Linked DNA regions of Homo sapiens: region 2 is linked to region 1. The links are contacts of gene promoters, found by promoter capture Hi-C in blood cells and fetal thymus (Javierre and others, 2016). All regions are on one chromosome and are shown on one strand. Each heading gives the region's core, a stretch centred on a gene start or on the middle of the fragment in contact. The rest is flanking DNA. Distances are from core to core; before and after follow the strand shown. Region 1 holds the start of WRNIP1 (WRN helicase interacting protein 1). Region 2 overlaps LOC102723944 (a long non-coding RNA gene).

The links. Contacts are between HindIII fragments. The CHiCAGO score rates a contact against its expected background, and 5 or more counts as called.
Region 2: a fragment that was not itself captured here is called in contact with the fragment with the promoter of WRNIP1 in region 1 in 1 of 17 cell types (total CD4 T cells); the score reaches 6.6 in total CD4 T cells.

The regions. Positions count from the first base shown.
Region 1 is chr6:2,763,902-2,766,938 of GRCh38, forward strand. It overlaps WRNIP1 (WRN helicase interacting protein 1), which reads left to right and starts at 1,492. Exons shown (of 7, transcript NM_020135.3): 1 at 1,492-2,543. The coding sequence starts at 1,722. It also overlaps a transcript of MYLK4 not described here. RefSeq lists enhancers at 57-936, 1,034-1,328 and silencers at 783-872, 1,253-1,302, 1,463-1,922, 2,093-2,412. The HindIII fragment of the contact is 13,290 bases long and covers 1-3,037 here.
Region 2 is chr6:1,529,912-1,532,948 of GRCh38, forward strand. The region is part of intron 2 of LOC102723944 (a long non-coding RNA gene); the gene reads right to left. Among named protein-coding and RNA genes, the nearest start is that of FOXCUT, 74 kb to the right of the region's middle. The HindIII fragment of the contact is 2,893 bases long and covers 64-2,956 here.

The sequences.
Region 1 (3,037 bases), core at 242-2,741:
TTTGGGAGACCGAGGTGGGCGGATCACCTGAGGTCGGGAGTTCGAGGAAGAAACCCCGTCTGTACTAAAAATCCAAAAAAATTACCTGGGTGTGGTGGCGGACGCCCGTAATTCCAGCTACTCGAGAGGCTGAGACAGCAGAATCACTGGAACCCGGGAGGCGGAGGTTGCCGTGAGCTGAGATTGCGCCATTGCACTCCAGCCTGGACAAGAGTGAAACTGCGTCTCAAAAAAATAATGAAAGCTCACGATCCTCTTTTGGTAGTTTCACGTTACATGATGATTAAAGTTTAACTTGTTTCTCTAGCGTTTCTATTAATCTTATTTTTGAGCCTAACTTTTTTAGTTAGAAACAACTCTTAACCAGCCAGCCAGGCGTGGTGGCTCAGCCTGTAACCCCAGGACGACTCCAAAGGCTAAGGCGGAAGGGTCCCGGGCGCCCAGGAGTTCAAGGCTGTGAGCTCTGGTCGCGGCCCTGCACTCCAGCCTGGGCGACAGAACGAGTGAGACCCTCAATGTGCTCTTGCCCAGATGAAATAAAAATTCAAGTTTTGGCCAAATTTCGGAAAAGTCTTCATTCTCCCTCAATTCATTTACCTCTTCTAGTTACCAAAAATGCCTGTTTTGAGATACATGTTTTAAAACGGGAGACTTAGACAAAAGCAAAAAATAACATGGTAATTCATTCAAAGATGCAGACTACCACACTTGTTTTAATCTGATATTCTTTCCATTTCTATCCGTCTAGGACGTAATTGCACACGGGCGCCTCCCATCATTTGGTTGCTAAGGAGACAGAAGGCTGGTGTTTCCGATTTGCCACTATTACACAGCGGCCCGCGAGAAGCATCTCTTGGCTCGAAGCGCGCTGTAGGTGAACCGCCCTTGACTTAAACGCCAACACATCTAAAAGGGGGCGAGGGACGCTTTATTTTCATTTCCCTGACCACTACTGAGGTGAGCATTTCTTTCACTCGCGTACTTGTTTGTATTTTTTCTGCTGTTCACGTCCAATAGAACACTGGTTTTCTATTGGAGGCTTTTGGGTTTTTTCCCCCATTTCCCTTTCGTTACAAACGACCCGCTGCGGCCGCCTCCTGCTTGTCCCCACAGGCCCATTCAACAGCCCAGCACGGAAGGCCGGGAAAGCGGCGCTCGCCGCTCCAACAACCTCGCGCAGTCCGTGGCTCCTCCCTGCCCTCGCGCGACTCGCAGGCCTGGGCGGAGGGCTGCGTCCGCCACCGCGCAACCTCGCGCACGCGCACCACGCTCGCCTCGCAACCCCCCCCCCCGCCCCTCCCCCGCCCCCGCAAAGGCTGTTCTCAGAGTCGGAAATGGACGCACGGCAGCTGGGGCGAATGGCCGCGGACTACACTTCCCGAAGTGCCGCGCGAGGTATTCTCGGCGGTGATTGGGGCAAACGGCCACGGACTACACTTACTTACATGCCGCGCGAGGCGCCTCCGCCGCCGGGGCAAACGGCCACGAACTACACTTCCCGACACGCCGCGTGAGGCGCTGCCAGCGGCCGGCCGAGGGCGGGCGGACGCGGGAGCTGCGGACGTGAGGCATGAGCGGCGCCCTCCTCCGGCCCGCGAGCGTCCTGCTGGTTCCCCGAGCGAGGGTCTCGCGGCGCGGGGCCTAGCGGAGGGCATCGAAGGCCTCCGCGTGCGCACGGGTTGCTGCGGCCGCGCCGGGCGCCGGGGAGGGCGGCGGCCGCCATGGAGGTGAGCGGGCCGGAAGACGACCCCTTCCTTTCGCAGCTGCACCAGGTGCAGTGCCCCGTGTGCCAGCAGATGATGCCCGCCGCGCACATCAACTCGCACCTGGACCGCTGTCTGCTGCTCCACCCGGCGGGGCACGCGGAGCCCGCGGCCGGGTCGCACCGCGCCGGGGAGCGGGCCAAGGGGCCCTCGCCGCCCGGCGCCAAGAGGCGGCGGCTGTCGGAGAGCTCGGCGCTGAAGCAGCCAGCCACCCCGACGGCAGCCGAGAGCAGCGAGGGCGAGGGTGAGGAGGGCGACGACGGCGGCGAGACCGAGAGCCGCGAGAGCTACGACGCGCCGCCCACACCCAGCGGCGCCCGCCTTATCCCCGACTTCCCGGTGGCCCGCTCCAGCAGCCCCGGGAGGAAGGGGTCGGGGAAGAGGCCGGCGGCCGCCGCCGCGGCGGGGAGCGCGTCTCCGCGCAGCTGGGACGAGGCGGAGGCGCAGGAGGAGGAGGAGGCCGTGGGCGACGGCGATGGCGACGGGGACGCGGACGCGGACGGCGAGGACGACCCGGGGCACTGGGACGCGGACGCTGCCGAAGCCGCCACCGCCTTCGGGGCCAGTGGCGGGGGCCGCCCGCACCCCCGGGCGCTGGCTGCCGAGGAGATCCGACAGATGCTACAGGGCAAGCCGCTGGCCGACACGATGCGTCCTGACACGCTGCAGGATTACTTCGGGCAGAGCAAGGCCGTGGGCCAGGATACCCTGCTGCGCTCGCTCCTGGAGACCAACGAAATCCCCTCGCTTATCCTGTGGGGGCCGCCGGGCTGCGGCAAGGTGAGTGCGGCCTTGGCCGTTGGGCTTCCGTAGTTATCTCGGCGGTGGATGCAGCTGATGGTCGGAGAGCCGGGTGTGCTGCCCTCGAAAGAAGCCGCCTGCCTCTCCTGGATAAGGGGGTGCAGACTTGGGCTGGGCTGGGGCAGTGCCTGGTCCACAGGTGGAGTCTGTGATGGGTGTGAAAAGGGCACACACCCCCAGATTGGTAAGGCAGGCTTGCCGGGTTTGCAAAAGGACGATGTCTGTGAATCCATAGTTTTACAAGATGTGGACTCTTAGATTTGATCTGCCTTTATCTTCCATCGGTCTCCCCGCCCCCTCCCCAGACTTTGATTTAGTAACCGAATTCGCAAGGAATCAGCATGTTTAAATTGTAAAGAAACATTTGTATATTCCGTTTGTACATAATAACGGATTCAGCTTTGAAAAAAATCAAATTAATTCTGTTGTGCTTCCTTCCTTTTCCACTAGTTGTTGGTTTAACAGACTGGTAT
Region 2 (3,037 bases), core at 260-2,759, 1.2 Mb before region 1:
AGGGGCACCATTTTCTGAACATGCAGCCTATGAAGAGCCAGGAAGAGCCATGAAGAGCCATGAAGCTTGACTATGCATGTACACATGGCCAATTACCTCGCTTTTCTTCACCCTCAGTCACCTTTCCCCACACCTCAGATCACCTTGCTTCCTTATGCCATATATATCTCTAACCTGACTTTTGGGGAGGCAGATTTGAGACCTGTTCTCCTGCCTCCTTGCTTCGTAGCCTCATGGATCAACCCTTTCTTCTTTGCAAAGCCCATTGTCACAGTGATTGGCTTACTGCATGCAGGCAGAATGAGCAGGGAGACAGACCTAATACTGACCCTCCTTGAGTAAGTGGATGACTGCAGAGCTGGGATGGAAATCGAGGCACAGAGAAGGTAACAGCACCAAGATCTGTTCTAACCATCCACCCCAAACAGCTCCCCTGCCCAGAATCCCATGTGACCAAGGGCCCATGTGAACCCACGCAGAGCCCATACGAATAAAACCCTTGACATCAGCTTCTTGGGAACCAACCCGCCACCTCCTGAACCAACCAGCTACCAATTAAGCATTAGTCCCCAGAGCAGGAAGCCTGGGCACCTGCTGCATTCTTGGTGGAACCTCATCAGCCCCTGCAGGGTAATCACGCCATCCCAGGTGGCCTCCTGGGATCAGCAATCAGCGACACTCTGATAATGAAATTACTGGGCCCTGATTGCAACAAACTTCCTTGAAGATCCTGGGCCAGTCTTTCTATCTGGGTATTATGAGAGATAATCAGTTTCATCTGGTTTCGGTTCTTTTAAAACTCCCCCTTTGAAATATTCAGATCATTATCTGTAACCAGCGCCTTGCTTCAGCTTTATACAATTTGTGTTAGAGACTGTTATGTGTTCACCAAACCCCAGACAGCTTTTTAAAGAAATTTTATGCATATATAGTATAGGCATGTACATCGCTTCTATTTTTTTGCATGTGATAGCACAATATTACTTTCTTTTCACTTATTACTATCACTTATTACTTATTATTCACTTTTCACTTATTACCAATATTATTACAATATTACTATCTTTTCACTTAGCACCATGTCTTGGAGTCCTGTCTATATCAGTACATTTAGAACAGTCTTGTTCTTTTTCATGGCTGTGTAGTATCCCCATGTGGATTTACCATAATCTGTTTAACCTGCCACCCACTGATGGGCATTTAAGTTGTTCTCAGACTTCTCCTATTATGAGCAATGTTGCACATTCTTGTGAAATTATATCTGCAAGATATAGTCCTAAAGTGGGATTGCTAGGTCAAAGGGCATGTGCATTTTTATTATGGGTAGGAATTGTCCAATTGTCCTGCACAGATATTGATGCCAGTTCTCACTTAAGTTGACCATGTGTGAATGTGACTGTCTCTCCTTATGCCTATGATATTTTATCACCTGTTTAATCTTTGTTAATCTGATAAATGAAAAAAATCTCATTGAAGTTTTGAGTTGTATTTCTTTTTTTTTTTTTTCTTTTTTTTGAGATGGAGTCTCACTCTGTCACCCAGGCTGGGGTGCAGTGGCACGATCTCCGCTCACTGCAACCTCTGCCTCCCTGGTGTTCAAGCGATTCTCCTGCCTCACCCTCCCGAGTAGCTGGGACTACGGGTGCATGCCACCACACCTGTCTAATTTTTTTGTGTTTTTAGTACAGACCGGGTTTCACTGTGTTAGCCAGGATGGTCTCGATCTCCTAACTTCATGATCCACCTGCGTGGGCCTCCCAAAGTGCTGGGATTACAGGTGTGAGCCACCGCGCCTGGCTGAGTTGTATTTCTTATATTATGAGGTTGAGCATCTTTTGCTAGGCTTTAGAGGCATTGATTCTGCTTGTCTTTCAACTCTCACTTCACCCTCTTTGCCCATGTTTCTACTGGGTTCTTTCCTTACTAATTTGTAAGAACTCTATACATCAAGAGCATTAGAACCCTGTGCAGTCCAAGTTGAAGCATTTCTTTCCCCTTTGACTCAGGTATTTGGGGTATTTTGCTGTTTTGTTTGTTTTCCGCCATGTGGAAGGTTTTTTCTTTTACATACAGTCATCCCACTATGGGTCCACATCTGCAGATTCAACCAACTACAGATGGAAAATATTTGGAAAAGAAACAATTAAAAATAACAACGCAGCAATAAAAAAAATACAAATAAAAAAACTATACAGTATAACCACTATTTACATAGCATTTACATTGTATTAGCTATCATAAGTAACCCAGAGATGATTTAAAGTATACAGTTATATGTACACACTATACCATTTTATATCAGGGACTTTAACATCTGAAGATTTTGGTATCTGTGGGGGTCCTGGACCCAATTCCCCAGATACCGAGGATGAACTGTATTTATTTTCTTTTAGTCTTTTTGCACTTTTGTCATACTTTTAGCACGTATACTAAATTCTAATATGTATTTGAATGTTCTTGAACTTTATAGACTGTTCCATTGAGCTTTCGCTCCACATCAGAAACTCATTGTTTATTATTATAGCTTAATATGTGACTAATATCTGGCACAGATAGTCCCCTTCCCCTATTATTCCTTTTTTCTAGAACTTTCCTGCCTCTGCTTGCTTATGTATCTTCCCATAAGAGCCTTGGCATTAACTCCCTACATCCAAAAATATTATATTGAAATATTTAACCTATAGAAAATCGACCTGTTAATGATATCAAGTGTTATACAATAACATGGTATGTGGGTTTCTTGTTGTTCTGGGGGGTTTTGGTTTATTTGTTTGGTTGGTTGGTTGGTTGGTTTTGGTTTTGGTTTATTATTGTTATTGTTTGTTCTTGGCTAAGTCCTAAGCTAATGACTACAGGGTACAAATTTTGATCCCAGCCAACTTGCTAAAATATGTTACTGTTTGTAATTCCCTGGAAAACCCAAGAAAACCTGCTAGAATAAAATAACTATCATAGAAGCTTCAAATGACAATAGTTTACCTTCTCCTTTTAAATTTTTATATATCTCATTTCTTCTAGTGTGTTATATTGACTGATC